Regions from separate parts of the Homo sapiens genome. Here all the other regions are linked to region 1. The links are contacts of gene promoters, found by promoter capture Hi-C in blood cells and fetal thymus (Javierre and others, 2016). All regions are on one chromosome and are shown on one strand. The core of a region is centred on a gene start or on the middle of the fragment in contact, and the rest is flanking DNA. Distances in the headings are between cores, read along the strand shown. Region 1 holds the start of CCL28 (C-C motif chemokine ligand 28). Region 2 has its middle 14 kb from the start of NIM1K. Region 3 overlaps NIM1K (NIM1 serine/threonine protein kinase). Region 4 overlaps NIM1K (NIM1 serine/threonine protein kinase). Region 5 overlaps NIM1K (NIM1 serine/threonine protein kinase). Region 6 overlaps NIM1K (NIM1 serine/threonine protein kinase).

Region 1 (2,921 bases), core at 121-2,620:
CCAGGCAGTTAATACAGCAAACTTCAGAGGCTCATCTGCTTTAGCCAGTTCTTGCCATGGTATGGTGGAATCATTGTTGCCACATCTGATTTCTCAAGAGAAGCTTTAAAATCCAATTTGTATGTGTGTATGTATGAGTATGTACATGAGAAAGCTTTCAGTTTTAAAATGTTGGCTCAGATTTTTAAAAAGCAGACCAAAGACTTATATTCCACCTCTGCTCTAGACTTAGAGAATCTGTTCAGGATAAAGCTTAAAGAAAAGATGACAATGGAAAAGAGTCATTGGTCAAGTATTAAGTACTGACACTTAGGGTTTCCTGAATATAGTAGTGAGTGCTACTTTAGAAGAGATTCCCTCTAGTTCAAATGCAGTTACAATCTCCAAATACATGCTAGCAACTCACGATTTAAATTCTCTTTGACATAATTTGTATGGTTCAATCTCCCTCATCCTGCTTTTCTTCTTTTTCTTTCTTTCCTTTCCTTTCTTCCTTTCCTTCTCTTTCCCCTCCCCTCCCCTCTTTTTGTTTTTAACAGATGGGGTTTTACTATGTTGCCCAAGCTGGAGTGCAGTGGCAATTCAGAGTGCAGTGGCAATTCACAGTGTGATCATAGCTCACTGCAATCTTGAATTCCTGGCCTGAAGCTATCCTCCAGCCGTAGCCTCCCAAGTAGGTGGGAATACAGGCATGCACCACTGTGCTCAGCTCTGCCCTCCCTTTTTAAAGGTCAGACTGAAGTTTCAGTTTTCTGTATCCATAGAGCTGACTTTGCTCAGGAAATTTACAACTTACCTAATTTGAACGCAGCTGGCCAAGTCTGTATTTCCCTCCAGGAATGTGCACAGTTGTGTTCAGACCGTTTAGCAGGTTGGGGTGTGGAGGAAGACAGATGAATAGTAGGGGCTTTACTCCAGCCTCTAGCTGGGGATTTTCTAAGATACTGTCTTCAGAAAAGGAAACATAGCTCGAAGTTGTACCTACATGGAAGGACCTCATCCTCCAGGTGGCAAAAATTTGTAGTATGCCTGTTAGAATGAGGTTCCTTCCTGAAACTTCTGGGAGATCTAGAATTTAAAGCTATGTCATTCTCTTGTAGGTAATCAGAAATCAATTGGAAATTCCTGCTTGAAGAGATAGATATTCTTGCCCCACCTCAATCCTTCCAGCACAGATTTGGGAGATACCCCCCTTTCCAGTGAAGGCCTAAGTGTCCAGTGCCCCCACTCACCTTCTGAGGCATGTAGGGCCGCACAGACAGCCAAGGCCACGATGGCGAGTCCTCTCTGCTGCATTCCTGCCTGCCCTACTGGCACTGACAGCAACACAAGTGAGGCTGTTCGATCAGGAAATGAGGCTAAAGGTGTCCTTGGGCACAGAGAAAGTGCAGAGGAAAAGTAAGCCAGGTGGCCCCGCCCTGGGAGGTGTTCAGGGTATCTATTTCTCATGTTTCTTTCCTTAAGACCAGGCTCCTCCTCGACTTATTAAGCTCCTAACTTGTGTTCATCCTGCCTGGGGGTCAGGGGATGTCAATGGAGATCTGGCAGCTGGCAGGGTCACTGTGAGGTGGGGTGTGCATCAGAATCATTTGGGGAACATTAAAAAAAATCAATCTAAATGACTCTCCCCTTTCCCTGATTTGTAAACCAGAACTCCCAGGTAGGAGACCAGTCATTTGAATTTTGTAAAAGCTCTATAGGTGATTCTGATGGACACTTATGTTGAGACCCATTGCATAATCAGTTTTTAAGTAGCTTATGGAAACCATGAGTTTCTGGGGACAAGGGTGACAAGTCATAAAAAATGTATCTTTGTGGAAAGATATGGAAGTATTAAACCCCACTTTAGTCTTGGTTCACAGCCAAATTGTTTCCAGTGAAGCTTTTTACAATAGCTTATTTAGGAGAAAGACAGGAAGGGGGGCAATGCCTTGTAGAAAAGAGCCCAAGAGCAGGTGTGAAGAGGCATGAGCGCTAGTGCAGCTTTGCTGCCAATCAGCTTTGTGAATAAAAGCATGGGGTAGCATGAAGATAATTGGATTCTAATTGTTCCTCATCTACTAATAAGTTGTATAACCTCAGGCAACGTACTTAACTTTGCTGTAAATAACAAGTCAGACTAGATGACCTCCAAAGTCATGCCATGCTTCCTCTAGAACTGTGTTGTCCTATGTGGTAGCCGCTAGCCCACATGTGGCTCTTGAGCACTTGAAATATGAGTAGTCCAAACTCAGATGTACTATGGGTATAAAATTCACACTGGATTTCAAAGACTGGGTACAGAAAAAAATATAAAATATCTTGTTAATAATGTTTATACTGTTTATTGATTACATGATAGTATTTTGGACTTTTTGGGTTAAATAAAATATATTATTAAAATTAATTTCACCCATTTCTTTTTATGTTTTCAAATTACTGCTGTGGTTTGAATATTTTTTTCTTCTCCAAAGCTCATGTTGAAAATTAATCCCTAATAGTGCTGGGAGATAGGGCCTAATGGACAATGTTTAGGTTATGATGGCTCCACCCTCATGAATGGATGAATGCTACTATAAAAAGGGCTTGTGGGAATGGGTTGGTACCTTCTGCTCTTCTGCCAGGTGAGTACACAATGCTCCTTCTCTCCAAAAGATGCAGCAAAGTGGCATCATCTTGGAAATAGAAACTGAAATCACTGGAGCCTTGATCTTGGACTTCCCAGCCTCCATAATTGTAAGAGAATACATTTCTGTTATTTATAAATTGCTCAGTCTCGGGTTGTGGTGTTATGATATATATATTGGCTTTTATCCATGGTTCCTGGCTTATAACTCCCATAACCCTTGTTACAGTTTTTTTTTGTTGTTTGTTTGTTTGTTTTTTTTTTGAGACAGAGTCTCGCTTTGTTGCCCAGGCTGGAGTGAGTTTCACCATCTTGG
Region 2 (2,921 bases), core at 149-2,648, 230 kb before region 1:
GTTCATTTTTCTTTTCCCAAAAGGTATAGAAGCTATCAGTGTACCCAGAATGCCAGTAAATTTGATTGCAAAAGTAGAGGAAAACTATCTACTGGTGATAAACTGTATGTTGAATAACATTTTGTAGTTGGAAAGCACTTTATGTAGAACATAAAACAGCTGTTAACAACTGATGTATATTTGCTTCAAGTACTGAAGCAAACTGGATATTTAGTCCTCCAGTGTTCTACTGTATTTGTACTGGAGTTTTAAGATAAGTCTACAGTATGAGGTACCAAGTTGGACAGTAGAGTGTGCAATGATGATCACATAGAAATAAGTCCCAAGTGCACTGAGAACGATGAGAGGCTTTTCTATCTCTACTCCGTTTCAACAGCAATTCTCAGACATCAATTGGGTGTCCAACAATTGAATCTGACACCACCCAGATTTAGAGCAAGTTAAGTGCTCAGTACCACAAAATTGCCCCCACTTCAGACACCAGCCACAAATGCGATCAACAGGCTACCCGCGCTTCTGCCCAGCCAACCGTAAATTTAGGGTTCTTATGGCCTTCCCATCCCCCCAAGTTCAATAATGCATTGAAACAACTCAGGAAAGCACTATACTTAACGACTACAGTAAGTATACAATTCAGGAACAGCCAAATGGAAGAGATGCATAGAGTAAGGTGGATGGAGGGGGTTGTGGAGGAGAATAGTAGAGGTTTCTCTGCCCTCACTTGGCATGCCACTTTCCCAGCATGTTGATGTGTTCAACTCAGAAGCTCCCTTACTGACATTTTATAACCTAGACTCATTAAATTATTGGCCTCCGGGCTCAATCTCCAGCCCCTCTTCTCCCTGGAGGTCTCGGGTGGGGGTAATAGTTGTAGCCCTTTAATACAACTGGTTCCTCTAGTGACCCGTGCCCATCTTGAAGCTATCTAGGGGCCCTCTGCCAGTAGTCATCTCATTAGCATAAACTGGTAAGATCAAAAGGGGCTTGTAATGAATAACAAAAGACATTCTGGAAATTACAAGGATTTTTGGAGCTGTGTGCAAGGAACCAGGGAGAAAAACCCAAATCCATTTTATTTGTTTTGTTTTTAGACAGTTTCACTCTTGTTGCCCAGGCTGGAGTGCAATGGCACGATCTCTGCTCACTGCAACCTCCACCTCCCAGGTTAAGGCGATTCTCATACCTCAGCCTCTCGAGTAGCTGGGATTACAGGCATGCGCCACCATGCCCGGCTAATTTTTTTTTTTTCAGTAGAGACGGGTTTTCACCATGTTGGTCAGGCTGGTCTCGATCTCTCGACTTCAGGTGATCCACCCACCTCAGCCTCCCAAAGTGCTGGGATTACAGGTATGAGCCACCGTGCTTGGCCTATTTTTTTTTTTTTTTTAATTACACCACACCTATCATTTGAGATTGAAAGAAAAACTAAACTGAATACATTAGCAATACATTTAAAAGCTAGACATCTTTTGGATATGTACAAAATCAGAAGGCTCTTGTAGTCTTACCAGTTTAAAAAGGCTACCTGGCTGGACACGGTGGCTCACGCCTGTAATCCCAACACTTTGGGAGGCCAAGGTGGACAGATCACCAGTTCAGGAGTTCGAGACCAGCCTGGGCCAACATGGTGAAACCCCCATCTCTACTAAAAATACAAGATGAACCAGGCATGGTGGCGGATGCCTGTAATCCCAGCTACTCAGGAGGCTGAGGCAGGAGAATCGCTTGAACCCGAGAGATGGAGGTTGCAGTGAGCTGAGATCGTGCCACTGCACTCCAGCCTAGGCCACAGAGCAAGACTCTGTCTCAAAATAAATAAATAAATAAATAAATAAATAAAAATAAAAAGGCTACCATACTCAGATAATACTGAATGTAGGGACATTTTCATGAGAATTTGAATGCTTCTGCTCCCACTAGTTTGAACTTGGAATTAAAGATGTCATTATTGGAAGGGTCCATGAAAGTTCTCTGGACTAACTACCCATTTCATAGTTTGAATAAGCCAACAGGCTTATTAAGCCATAGAGTGAGGCCTAAATGTAGATACCTTTACCAATCAAGTGGATTTTAATTCGCATTTTCAATTTAACATGGGTTGGTTGTTTTAAACAAGTGATTCTATGATCATTAAACTAGTCACACAAAAAGTATTTTATAACTCTTAGATGCAAAATTACAAACAAATGCCTGACCTAGAAAGTTTAGTCTGATTTTGTTGGAGAAAACTAATAGCTTTGAATTCATTAGGTTAACACTGACCTTTGTGTTAATTACATCAGGAGAGGGAGATCTAGATTGTTTTTCTTGTGTAATCTGCTGAGCTGTGCTATACCTCTTACAGGATTTGTCATGAAGAATTCAAATGAGAAGAAGGAATTAAACCCTCATCACCCCATCAGTTAATAAAATCCTTCATAGTTAGAAGCCTAGATATTTATTACTTTAAAACCCATAAAAAACAAACAAAAAAAAACCAGAGGCTGTCATAATAGTCTGAACTTCTTAAAACTCTACTCCCTGCCCTGCAAATGTAACTTCATTAATTCTATTGACATGGTAAAGAAGGCAGCATGTGAATTCAATCTTTTTCTCTTCGCCCTTCCTGCAATTCAATCTTCTCTTTGCCCTTCCTGCAACCCAACATGTCCCTATAAATATTTTTTTTTTTTTTTAGACAGGGTCTCGCTGTGTCACCCAGGCTAGAGTGCAGTGGCACAATCTCGGCTTACTGCAACCTTTAACTTCTGGGCTCAAGCAACCCTCCCACTTCAGCCTCCTGAGTAGCTACGACTACAGGTGCGTGTACCACACTCAGCTCCTTTTTGCATTTTTTGTAGAAATAGTCTGTCTGTGTTCCCATGCTGATTGAAATCTCTTGGGCTCAAGCGCCTCGCCCTCCCAAAGTGCTGAGATGACAG
Region 3 (2,921 bases), core at 120-2,619, 220 kb before region 1:
ACTTATCATACATTTTTAAAAAAACAAAAGCAAAGATTTTTGTCTTAGTAGGTTAATGTTTTTGTCACATATATAGTTTCATTTTGAGAAACTTAAAAATTAAAATATAACATTAAATCCAACTTCATTCTTTGAATCTGATCACTGTATTTCTCTAGGGATTAAAGAGTTTTAATTCATTGGTTGATTTTCTTTCACTTGTTGAAAGGACAAACTGTTCATAAAATTTGTTTCATTTTGTATTTTGTCATTTCCTATTGTCATTCTAGAAAAAGGTCTCTAGAATTGAAGTTTTAATTTTCAGGAGAAGAAGAAAATATTCAAATTGCTTATGAAGATAATAGTCTACAACTTGAATTAACCACATCATAGTTCTTAAATTACTTTCTCTCAAGAACTTCAAGGTTAGCTTAGCCATTATTATACAGCATCCTGAGGAATATTAATCAGTTTTACAGATGGACAAGTTGTGTTCAAAAGCCAAGTGATAGGTCGGTGCCGTGGCTCAGGCCTGTAATCCCAATACTTTGGGAGGCTGAAGCAGAAGGACTGCTTGAGCCCAGGAGTTCGAGACCAGCCTGGGCAACATGGTGAGACCTTGTCTCTATAAAAATTTTTTAAAAATTAGCTGGGTGTGGTGGTGCATGCCTGTAGTCCCAGCTACTGGGGAGACTGAGGGAGGAGGATTGCTTGAGCCTGGGAGGTTCAAGGCTGCAGTGAGCTGTGATTATGCCACTGCATTCCATCCTGGGAGACACAGAAAGACTCTGAATCCAAAAAAAAAAAAAAAAAAAGTGATTTCAGCTAACCACTTGGAAAATCGAGACAAAAATCTAAATTGTCTGACATGAGCATTATGAATATGAGCATTAGCCAAGACTTAAGAGAAATTCAGGGCATGGATAGCGGGAAGAATTTAAGATTAGAGAGCAAAATAAAACTGTTAAGGGGAAAAAACTGTAAGGAGAAAGCAGATTAATAGAAAGAAAGTAAAAGCGAAAACATCAAGTGAAAAGAGGGTTGCACAGAAGGAAAACGAAGTTGCAGAATAGGAAACTAAGAAGAACTCCACTCTTCATCTTCCACAGAGAACACTGATGGTTTTCCAGAAAGCAGTCAGTACCCTATTTAGCAAAATCGTGTGACTTGGGAGGCCTTAGCGGCAGATCTTAGTTCATTCTGACTCCCTGCCACCCATCCAAGTGGTGTGGGCTGAGGCAGCTGTCTTTTCGGGTCTCCTGAACTAGCTGCTCATTAGATCTTTTCTCCCTAATCCTAAAGCCATCAAGAAGCTTTCTGTGTCTCTATTTGTTGGAATTATCTAGTTGGGATAATATATGGATACACTTGATTACATAATTGCACTGAAATTTTTCTTTTTACTTTAAAAAATTGTTCAAATTGTTATCATCACAATGCATTCACCTAATTTTATGAGAGTATATTAAAAGCTTATAACTGGCTGGGCGCGGTGGCTTACGCCTGTAATCCCAGCACTTTGGGAGGCCGAGGTGGGTGGATCATGAGGTCAGGAGATCGAGACCATCCTGGCTAACACAGTGAAACCCTGTCTCTACTAAATATACAAAAAAAAAAAAATTAGCCAGGTGTGGTGGTGGGCGCCTGTAGTCCCAGCTACTCGGGAGGCTGAGGCAGGAGAATGGCTTGAGCCTGAGAGATGGAGCTTGTAGTGAGCCGAGATCGCGCCACTGCACTCCAGCCTGGGCGACAGAGCGAGACTCTGTCTCAAAAATAAATAAATAAATAAATAAAAAATAAAAGCTTATAACTAAAACAACAGTCCCAGTCTCCAGAGGCAATCATTTTGAACTCTTGGCTGTTTGATCACTTACCTCCCTATGTCCAAATAATTAGCTTATGTTGCTGTTTTTTCTTTTTTTCTTGAGACAGGTTCTCACACTGTTGCCCAGGGTAGAGTACAGTGGTGTGATCATGGCTCACTGCAGCCTTAAATTCCTGAGTTCAAGCAATCCTTCCCCCTCAACCTCTTGAGTAGCTGGGGCTATAGGTGCACGCTACCATGCCCATGCCCAGCTTTTTTTTTTTTTTTTTTTTTTTGGTAAAGACAAGGTTTCACTATGTTGCCCAGCCTGGTCTCAAACTCCTGGGCTCAAGCAATCCTCTCACTTTGGCCTCCCAAAGTGCTGGGATTACAAGCATGAGCCACCATGCCTGGCCACTGGTTCTTGATTTATCAATTTTGGACAGAATCTATTGACTTATTTATTTTTATGTTTTATTTAGAGGCAGGATCTCACTCACCTAGACTACAGTGCAGTGGTACAATCATAGCTCACTGCAGCCTAGAACTTCTGGGCACAAGTGATCCTCTCATTTCAGACTCCAGAGTAGCTGGGACTACAGGCATGCACCATCATGTCCAGCTAAGTTTTTTATTTTTGTAGAGTTGTCGGTGGTAGGGGGGGCGGGCCTCTCTATGTTGCCCAGGCTGGTCTTGAACTCCTGGCCTCAAGCCATCCTTCTGCCTTGGCCTCCCAAAGTGCTGGGATTACAGGCGTGAGCCACCACGCCTGGCCAAATTAGTTCTATTCTTGGCTAATAAAATACACCTTAGTCATTTTTAATCATGAAGATTTTTAAAGAGCCTTTTAAACTTTTTGGAAATTTGAAATGTAGCCAAATACTCCCTCAGATGTAATCAACAGCGCCAGCCCTTGAGCTCCTACAGAACACAGAGGTACTGATTTTTCCACCCTTTATACTGCCTCAATTTCCATGATCCATACTCCATACCCCCTCTCCCATTTTACCATTTCCCTGACCTACATTTCTCTATCTTTCAGTACTTGCTGAATCACACCTGGAAATTCCTTCAGGCCTTATCTCCTTCCAGATGTTCTCTTTTGGGCCCCACCCTGTCTGTACCTATCTCTAGTTTA
Region 4 (2,921 bases), core at 317-2,816, 200 kb before region 1:
GTTTTCCTTGGGTCTGCATCTTAGGCAGATAGGAACTTCAGCTTTCCCAAAGAAGTTGTCTGTCTAAGATCCACACCCACCAAGGTCTTTGGGAACGACCATGGGGACTGGGGGGAATGTCAGTGAGACCTTGCGGTTTCTTCAGTTCAGCATGTCAATATATCATATTCTGGAATATTGGCTGCTAAGCCCCAACAGGATGTTTGTGAGACCTCAAGTACTTGGAGACATCTCAAATATAGGGCATATGGAGGGGGGTAAGTGGGAACAGGGGAGATGAGAAATGAAGCTAGAAATAAAGCCAAGAACTAGATCTTGAGGAGCTTTCTAGACCATGCAATGGAAATCTAATTTTATCCTACAGACATTTTAATGAAGGATTTTAAGCAGGACAGTACTGTGGTAAAATCTACATTTTGGAATAATCACACAAGTGGTTTGCTGGAGAATAAAATTGAGCTGGGAATAAAATTAAGATGGGAAGTAGGGAAGCCTGCTAGAAGGTTCTTAAAGCCACCTAGGCACAGAATGGGATTAAGACCCTTCATCAAACCACACATGCAACTCAAAATTCAAGCAAAGCTAACCATATAAGACTAACAAAAACAAAATTCGGATTTTTCTTAGGATGATTACCTAGATGCATTGAGAAATATATATATTGAATATAAAAGTATTTTAAGACTTTTATTTCCGCCTCTCTTGGATGCGCCTGGTCTGCTGGTGCCTTAAAGCATGTGCATCTCTACCTACTGTGGGATCCCAGGATGGAAATGTAAAAGGATTGGGGTGGTGTGGAAGTGGGAGGATCAACAGGATTGGGTGAGGGGAAGGTAGAGGACAGGAATGGCACCTAGGTTTCCTGCTTGGCCAACGGATCGCACATCATTTCTGGGTTTCTGTTCCTTATCCTTCCCAACACATGGCAGAGGTCTCCTCCCAGACAGGAATGGTCCCAACCTGTTCCTGTTGCAGAGGCCCTCTATCCTTTGAGCTTAGTCCAGGCTCCAATAGGGATTTTTAAATACTCTCACGTGAGGACCAAAAATAAATCCCTCCACAGTCTTTAAAATGCTCAGGACCAGAGTCAGCCTGTAACATACCATGGTTTCAGCACCGTCGTCATGAGGCTCCAGAAGCAACCCTGGGGCTCAGGAGAGGAGGGCTCAGCAGGACTCCCTCATTCCTTCCTCCCATCTCTAGTCCTCCTCCTTTTAGTGGCTCCTGTGTACAAAGATAACTCAGTCCCCTCAGTCACTCTGGGACTGTGGCTCAGTGACAAAAGCAGAAGATGCAGCCTGATAGAGACACCAACTCTAAACGTCTGGGAACAAGGCCCCAGGCAGCAGCTAAATATATCACTGCGATTGCTCCTGAATGTTCTAGAGCACCAAAGACTCTGTTAGGAAGCATATTCTCACCATGCACTTGGGTCTAGTGTTCATTGCACTGTTTCCTTTCAAGAGCCTCAAAGCCCTAACTTCAAGAGCAAACAAAAGCAAATTTAGAATGTGTACCAGATATATTCTCAATTATAGCTTCAGCTTCCCCTCTGTGTTCGCCCAGGTGCAGAGTAGAATATGGGCTCCCATATGTGCCATTTACTGTTTTTCATCAATATTTAAGCATCCACCTTTGCCAGAGGGTGTATTCAGGCAACTGGTAACTATGCCACCATTTCAACCACTTATTTGGTGCCTGATATCATTTTTTCTAAGTCCTCCTATTTCTGGATTCAAAACTTTGAAAAAAATCTCCATTTTCTTTCTTTCTTTTTTTCTTTCTTTCTTTCTTTCTTTCTTTCTTTCTTTCTTTCTTTCTTTCTTTCTTTCTTTCCTTCTTTTCTTCCTTTCTTTCTTTCTTGTTCTTTCTTGTTTCTTTTTCTTTCTTGTTTCCTTTCCTTTTCTTTTCTTTTCTTTTCTTTTCTTTTCTTTTCTTTTCTTTTCTTTTCTTTTCTAGTTGGAGTCTCATTCATTGTCACCCAGGCTGGAGCGCAGCGGCACGATCTTGGCTCGCTGCAACCTCCACCTCCCAGGTTCAAGTGATTCTCGTGCCTCAGCCTCCCAAGTAGCTGGGATTACCGGCATGCACCACCACATCTGGCTATTTTTTTTTTCTTTTTGAGACGGAGTCTCGCTCTGTCACCCAGGCTGGAGTGCCGTGGCACATTCTCTGCTCACTGTAACCTCCACTTCCCAGGTTCAAGTGATTCTCCTGCCTCAGCCTCCAGAGTAGCTGGGATTACAGGTGCCTGCCACCACGCCCGGCTTATTTTTGTATTTTTTTAGTAGAGCTTGGGTTTTGCCATATTGGCCAGGCTGGTCTTGAACTCCTGGCCTCAGGTGATCCACCCAGCTTGGCCTCCCAAAGTGCTGGGATTACAGGTGTGAGCCACTGCCCCGGCCAATTTTTGTATTTCTAGAAGAGATGGGTTTCACCATGTTGGCCAGGCTGGTCTCAAACTCCTGATCTCAAGTGATCTGCCTAACTCAGCCTCCTAAAGTGCTGAGATTACAGGCTGGAGCCACCATGCCTAGCTCTTTCTCTCTTTCTTTCTTTCTTTTTTCTTTCTCCTTCCTTCTTCTCTTTCTTTCTTTTTTTTTTTTTGTCTTACCTTTTTACCCAGGCTGGTCTTGAACACCTGGCCTTAAGCAATCCTCCCACCTCGGCCTCCCAAAGTGCTGGCATTACAGGCATGAGCCACCACACCCAGCCAAAAATATCTCAGTTTTGGAATGCTGGACTCGACCATCCCAGGCATCTGAGCCAGTTGACTGTATCAGGGAGGATTCACTCACTTTTACACACATGGTTATCAGAGACAGGCCACATTCCCAGATCACAGTAGAGATATATGCATATTTTTAGCCCTTAAACCAAGAAAATCTCTGTTGTAATTATAAGTAGGCAAAACAATATCA
Region 5 (2,921 bases), core at 314-2,813, 180 kb before region 1:
CCACCAAGCCCAGCCTAATTTTAGCCTCTTTTTTTTTTTCTTTAAGAGCGAAGACTTCCTTTGAAATATCTCTACCTTTACCTATAGATAAACAGATACCAATTACATATAAATTTCAAGTTATAAAACTAGTTATACATGTTATAAAACCTTCAAACAACCCAGAAACAAATGGAGTAAGAAATGAAAGCCCTCTTGCACAAACATTGGGTTGCCATAACAAAAGTTGAAACAATAAAGGCTTAAAGAAGATAGAATCTTATATCTCTCACATCATAATATACAAGGTAGCAATCCTGGGTTGATCTGGTGACTGTGTAGTGATGGGTTTAGGCTCCTTCTCGGTGGCTCTGCAATTCTCAGCACATGGCTTCCATCTTGGTCCAAGGTGGCTGTTTCCATTTACCCCACTGTGTCCACATTCTAGCTAGCAGGAAGATGGGAAGAAGGAAGAGGCGAGAGGTCATGCTTCTTTTTTTAAAGGTCACAACATGGCAGTCACGTATGTCACTTGTGCTCACAGCCCATGACTGGAACTCAGATACATGGCCAAACTAAACTATAGCCAAAACTGGGAAATACAGTCCTCAGTTGGATAGCAATGTGCCCAGCTAAAACTTCTCTGTTATAAAATAGTGGTTTTCAAGTTTGGCTGCACAACAGAATCACCTGGAAAACTTAAACAAATAGACACCTCCCACTCCACAGGCCAATTCAATCACAATATTTGGGGGGCAGGGCCTAGACTTCTGCATTTTTTGAATGCTCTCTGGTGATTTTCATGCAGGTTAAGGTTGAGAACCACTGCTATAGAAGAAAGAACAGATGAAGGGGGGATAACAACCCCCATCACCGTCATTTTCACTCCTCCCCAATTCTGTACCTCACACTCCTTCCCCATTTGTCACCCACTAGTTCAATCTGCATTTTACCAGAGCTTTTTTTTGTGCATGTACAAGTACGCACTACGTGCATATGCACATGGTCTGTCCTGACACCCAGTAGTGACTCCAGCATTTCTATATGGGTGTGTCTTGGAATAGTAATATTACTAGAAGAGGCATGAGCCTCTGTATTTGCATGGCACTTTACACTAATCAAAAAATATATTATTTTCTTGGCTGGATGCTGTGGCTCACACCTATAATCCCAGGATTTTGAGAGGCTGAGGCTGGGGGATCACTTGAGCTCAGGAGTTCAACACCAGCCTGGGCGACATAGTGAGACACCATCTCTACAAAAAATAAAAAATTAGCTGGGCATGTTGGCACAAGCTTGTTGTCGCAGCTACTCAGGAGACTGAGTTGGGTGGATTGCTTGGGTCCAGGAGATCGAGGCTGCAGTGAGCCATCCTCTCATTACTGCAGTCCAGCCTGAGTGACAGAGTGAAACTCTAGTTATCTCTTCCTCTATCTATATCTATATATCTATATTTATAAATGTATAATTTTCTTATGTGTGTCAAAGAATGAGGGCTAATGAAGAATTTGTGGTGGTGTGAAAGCTGAAGCCATCTCTTGGTTTAGCCCCTGCAAGCATCATAATATTGAATCGTTTACCTTTTCCCAGTGGTCTCAAATGCCACCTCTATTACATATTAAATCTCCATATATATGAAGATTTTTTAAAAGTATTATTTATTCTGTTAGTTCAGATTGTTACTACATATTTGTTCACTTTTAAAAAACATTTATTATTATTATTGTTTTTAAAACCCATCACAGAAATGGACAGTCTGGGTCTGCAAAAGCATTCATGTTTTAAAGCATAGGTCAGTAGTTGTATATTAGAGCATACACTGCTACATAAAAATTAACTGATCAGACCACAACTTTTCAATGTTTAAAACAGAATAAGCTTCCCTGTAAAAGCAGCACCTTTGTGACGTTTTCACTTTAGTATTCCTCTCTTTCTTCCTCACCTTCTCCTTCAACAGAATCCACACCAACCTCCTTATAATCCTTCTCAAGGGCAGTCATGTCCTCACTGGCCTCAGAAAACTCTCCTTCCTCCCTTCTCTCACCCACGTACCAGTGAACAAAAGCACTCTTGACATACATTCAAGTCAAACTTGTGGTCCAGGTGAGCCCAGGCCTCAGCAATGGCTGTGGTATTGCTCAGCATGCACACAGCTCTCTGTGTCTTGACCAGGTCTCCACCAGTCACCACAGTGGGAGGGCTGGCAGTTAATGCCAACCTTGAAGCCAGGGGGCACCAAACCACAAATTAGATGATACACTTGGTCTTGATTGATGGTGGCAATGGCAGCATTGACGTCTTTGAGAACCATGTCACCACGGTAAAACAGGCAGCAAGCCATGTATTTACCATGGCAAGGCTCACATTTCATCATCTGGTTGGCAGGCTGAAAGCAAGCACTGGCAGTCTCTGCTACAGAAAGCTGTTTCATGGTAGGCTTTCTCAGCAGAGATGACAGGGCATATGTGTCCAGACGGAAGTGGATGGGGGGATAGGCCACCAGCTTGGTCTGGAATTCTGTCAGATCAACATTCAGGACTCCATCAAATCTCAGGGAAGCAGTGATGGAGGACACAATTTGACCTATCAACCTATTCAGTTTAGTATAGGTTGGGCGTTCAGTATCAAGGTTCTATGCCAGATATCATAAGTGGCCTCATTGTCTACCATGAAGACACAATCAGAGTGCTCCAGGGTGGTGTGGGAGGTGAGGATGGAGTTGTAGGGCTCAACTACAGCTGTGGAAACCTGGGGTGGTGAGTAAATGGAGAACTGCAGCTTGGACTTCTTGCCGTAATCAACCGGGAGTTGTTCCATGAGCGGGGAGGTGAACCCAGAACCAATTCCTTCACCAAAGCTGTGGAAAAACAAGAAGCCTTGGCGATCCATGCACTGTTCAGCCAGTTTACAAATTTGGTCCAAAACGAGGTCAGTGATCTCCT
Region 6 (2,921 bases), core at 196-2,695, 140 kb before region 1:
GAGGTTGCAGTGAGCCAAGATTGCGCCTTGCTCTCCAGCCTGGGCAACAAAGTGAGACTTCATCTCAAAAAAAAAAAGAAAAAAAAAAAAGAATAGCTACTCCTGCTAGCCTTTGGTTTCCATATACACAGAACATCTTTTCCCACCCCTTTACCTTGTGCTTGTGTGAATCCTTATGCATTAGATGAGTCTCTTGAAGACAGCAGATATTTGGTTTGTGATATTTTATCCATTCTGCCAATCTGTATGTTTTCAGTGGAGCATTTATGCCATTTATGTTTAATATTAACATTGAGATGTAAGGTACGATTCTCCTCATCATGTTGATTATTACCTGGATCCTTTTGTGTGTGTGTGTGTGTTATTGTTTTTATTTTTTTATTTTAATTTTTTTGAGACAGAGTCTTGCTCTGTCACCCAGGCTGGAGTGCAGTGGCGAGATCTCTGCTCACTGCAAGCTCCGCCTCCTGGGTTCATGCCATTCTCCTGCCTCAGCCTCCCGAGTAGCTGGGACTACAGACACCCGCCACTACGCCTGGCTAATTTTTTGTATTTTTAGTAGAGACGGGGTTTCACCATGTTAGCCAGGATGGTCTCGATCTCCTGACCTCGTGATCCACCCCCCTTGGCCTCCCAAAGTGCTGGGATTACAGGTGTGAGCCACCGTGCCCGGCCATGTGTGTGTGTTATTGTTTTATAGGCCCTGTGAGTTTTATGCTTTCAAGAGGTTTTATTCTGATGCATGTCAACTTTTGGTTTCAAGATTTAGAAGTCCTTTTAGAATTTTGTGTATGGCTGGTCTGGTAGTTACAAATTCCTTCATCATTTGCTTGTCTGGAAAAGACTTTATTTCTCTTTCATTTATGAAACTTAGTTTTGCTGGACACAAAATTCTTGACTGACACTTATTCTGTTTAAGGAGGCTAAAGATTGGACCCCAATCCCTTCTGGCTTGTAAGGTTTCTGCTGAGGGGAAGATTTTTATCAATGACATAAATGTGTGATGATGGAAACAATCCAGTGGGAAGAGAAAATTGATGCAGGAGAGAAGAAAGAAAGCTTTTTTGGAGGGCTGCTCTTTAGTATATGAGAGTAGATGGAATCTATTCAACATGTAAAGGAGTCTTAGCTAGGCCTTAGATAGGAGTAGGAATTGTTTATCCAAAGTAAAATGAAGGAAGAGAGATTCCAGTAGGTTGGAAGACATGGTGGGAAGGACTTGAGGAAATTCTCCTCTATTGCTTATTTTACTCAATAAAGTAGGAAGCAAGGTTACCAGCTGTGAATGAGGAGTGGAAGAAGGCATTAGAGACTTGATGAGAGAAAAGAAGCCATGAAAGAGTTATACAAAAGTGTATGAGGTTTATTGGACTAGGGAAAGTATGTCTGCCAGGCGCTTTAAAGGGCCAACTGAAGTTAGTGACCAGAAATTCAAAGTGAGACAAGCCATTATGTCCAACAGCATGGGTGCAGGCAGAGAGTAGTGGGAAGCTGGATTTAACCAGAGTCATGGTTTAGCAAAGTGAACTCAACAACCTGGGAGAGAGACAGGGGAACTTAGGGAGTGCCCGAAGGCATGATAACATTAATAGAGATCCTCCTCCAGTGAATGTCACCAGCCTCCCAGTTGCTCAACTGAGAAACCTTGACCTTTTCCTCAACCCCTAACACCCAAACACCAAGTGGTATTGATTTCACTTCCTAAATATCTCCTCCTTTCCTCATTGGATTAAGCTACTGTAATTTGTCTTCATGTTTATATCATTTCCCCCATAGCAGCCAGAGGTGATGTTTTAGAAATTACAAGCCTGATCATGTAACTACCTACTTACAAGCTTCCAGCAGCTTCTTTTTTTTTTTCAAGTGGCAGTTTTAAGTTTGTGGGTTTTTAATTTATATATGTGAAATACCTTTTTATAGGCAAAAATAATAATAGCATGCTTCTTACTGCCCTTAATGTGAAATGACTCACAAGACCTTGGTGTGGCCAACTCTCCAGCCTCTTTTTTGGCTTATATTTTTCCTTCTTCCCCGTATGCCAGCCCTACTTTCTTCTTTCAATTCTTCAAAGTCAGTCATCTCTGAGGGTGCATATACCCCCAGAGAATGCCCAAGATGATTCACTGGGATGAGGAAAAAAAATACTAGAACTTCCTTTTATATTTATTTGTGATTATATATTTTTAATTTCTGTGATTATATATATTGAAAATGTGTAAATCAGTAGTACATGGATACACTTTATAAATACGTATACATATATTAGAGTAGTGCTCAAAAATGTTTTATTATGCACATGCAGTTGTAAGAATATGTACAGAGACCACATGTACCATTTACCCAGTTTCACACAAACTTGCATCTTGCAAAACTATAGTCATAACCTTGATATTAATATTGATCTAATTCACTGATCTTATTAAGATTTTCCCAGTTCTTGTATTCATGCATGTGTATGTATTTTAACTCTATGGAATGTTATCACATAAATAGGTTGTTATATTCCCCACCACAGTAAAGATACAGGACAAGTCCATTATCACAAGGGCCCTTCAAGTGGCTCTTCTGTAGCCACCTCCTAACCCCCTATACCCTGTCCCTGACTCCTGCCAGCCACTAATCCGTTCTCCATTTCTATAATTTTGTCATTCCAAGAAAATTATATACAAGAAATCATACAGTAGTAACCTTTTAGGATTGGCATTTTTCACTCACCATACTTCTCGGGCAATTCATCTAAACTGTTGTATCAATAGTTGGTTCATTTTTATTGCTGAGTGGTATTCCACGTATGAAGGTACCACAATTTGTTTAACCATTCACCAGCTGAGGACATGTAGATTCTTTGCAGTTAGGAGCTATTATCAATAAAGCAACTAATGATGTTGAATATTAAAAAAATGCTTTATTGACAAAGGAAG

The links. The method cuts DNA at HindIII sites, captures the fragments that hold promoters and counts their contacts. A CHiCAGO score of 5 or more calls a contact.
Region 2: a fragment that was not itself captured here is called in contact with the fragment with the promoter of CCL28 in region 1 in 5 of 17 cell types (erythroblasts, M1 macrophages, megakaryocytes and 2 more); the score reaches 9.6 in erythroblasts.
Region 3: a fragment that was not itself captured here is called in contact with the fragment with the promoter of CCL28 in region 1 in 4 of 17 cell types (M1 macrophages, erythroblasts, megakaryocytes and 1 more); the score reaches 8.1 in M1 macrophages.
Region 4: a contact is called between a fragment that was not itself captured here and the fragment with the promoter of CCL28 in region 1, in 3 of 17 cell types (erythroblasts, M1 macrophages and megakaryocytes). The highest score is 6.5, in erythroblasts.
Region 5: a fragment that was not itself captured here is called in contact with the fragment with the promoter of CCL28 in region 1 in 4 of 17 cell types (erythroblasts, M1 macrophages, megakaryocytes and 1 more); the score reaches 8.3 in erythroblasts.
Region 6: a fragment that was not itself captured here is called in contact with the fragment with the promoter of CCL28 in region 1 in 1 of 17 cell types (erythroblasts); the score reaches 5.2 in erythroblasts.

What each region holds. Positions count from the first base shown.
Region 1 is chr5:43,411,021-43,413,941 of GRCh38, forward strand. It overlaps CCL28 (C-C motif chemokine ligand 28), which reads right to left and starts at 1,371. Exons shown (of 3, transcript NM_148672.3): 1 at 1,233-1,371. The coding sequence starts at 1,296. The HindIII fragment of the contact is 1,630 bases long and covers 251-1,880 here.
Region 2 is chr5:43,177,152-43,180,072 of GRCh38, forward strand. No RefSeq gene overlaps it. Among named protein-coding and RNA genes, the nearest start is that of NIM1K, 14 kb to the right of the region's middle. The HindIII fragment of the contact is 3,514 bases long and covers 1-2,921 here.
Region 3 is chr5:43,194,887-43,197,807 of GRCh38, forward strand. All of the region lies in intron 1 of NIM1K (NIM1 serine/threonine protein kinase), which reads left to right. Among named protein-coding and RNA genes, the nearest start is that of NIM1K, 4.1 kb to the left of the region's middle. The HindIII fragment of the contact is 159 bases long and covers 1,291-1,449 here.
Region 4 is chr5:43,211,390-43,214,310 of GRCh38, forward strand. The region is part of intron 1 of NIM1K (NIM1 serine/threonine protein kinase); the gene reads left to right. Among named protein-coding and RNA genes, the nearest start is that of NIM1K, 21 kb to the left of the region's middle. The HindIII fragment of the contact is 4,233 bases long and covers 1-2,921 here.
Region 5 is chr5:43,229,917-43,232,837 of GRCh38, forward strand. All of the region lies in intron 1 of NIM1K (NIM1 serine/threonine protein kinase), which reads left to right. It also overlaps the pseudogene TUBAP14. Among named protein-coding and RNA genes, the nearest start is that of NIM1K, 39 kb to the left of the region's middle. The HindIII fragment of the contact is 583 bases long and covers 1,273-1,855 here.
Region 6 is chr5:43,269,243-43,272,163 of GRCh38, forward strand. The region is part of intron 2 of NIM1K (NIM1 serine/threonine protein kinase); the gene reads left to right. Among named protein-coding and RNA genes, the nearest start is that of HMGCS1, 43 kb to the right of the region's middle. The HindIII fragment of the contact is 776 bases long and covers 1,058-1,833 here.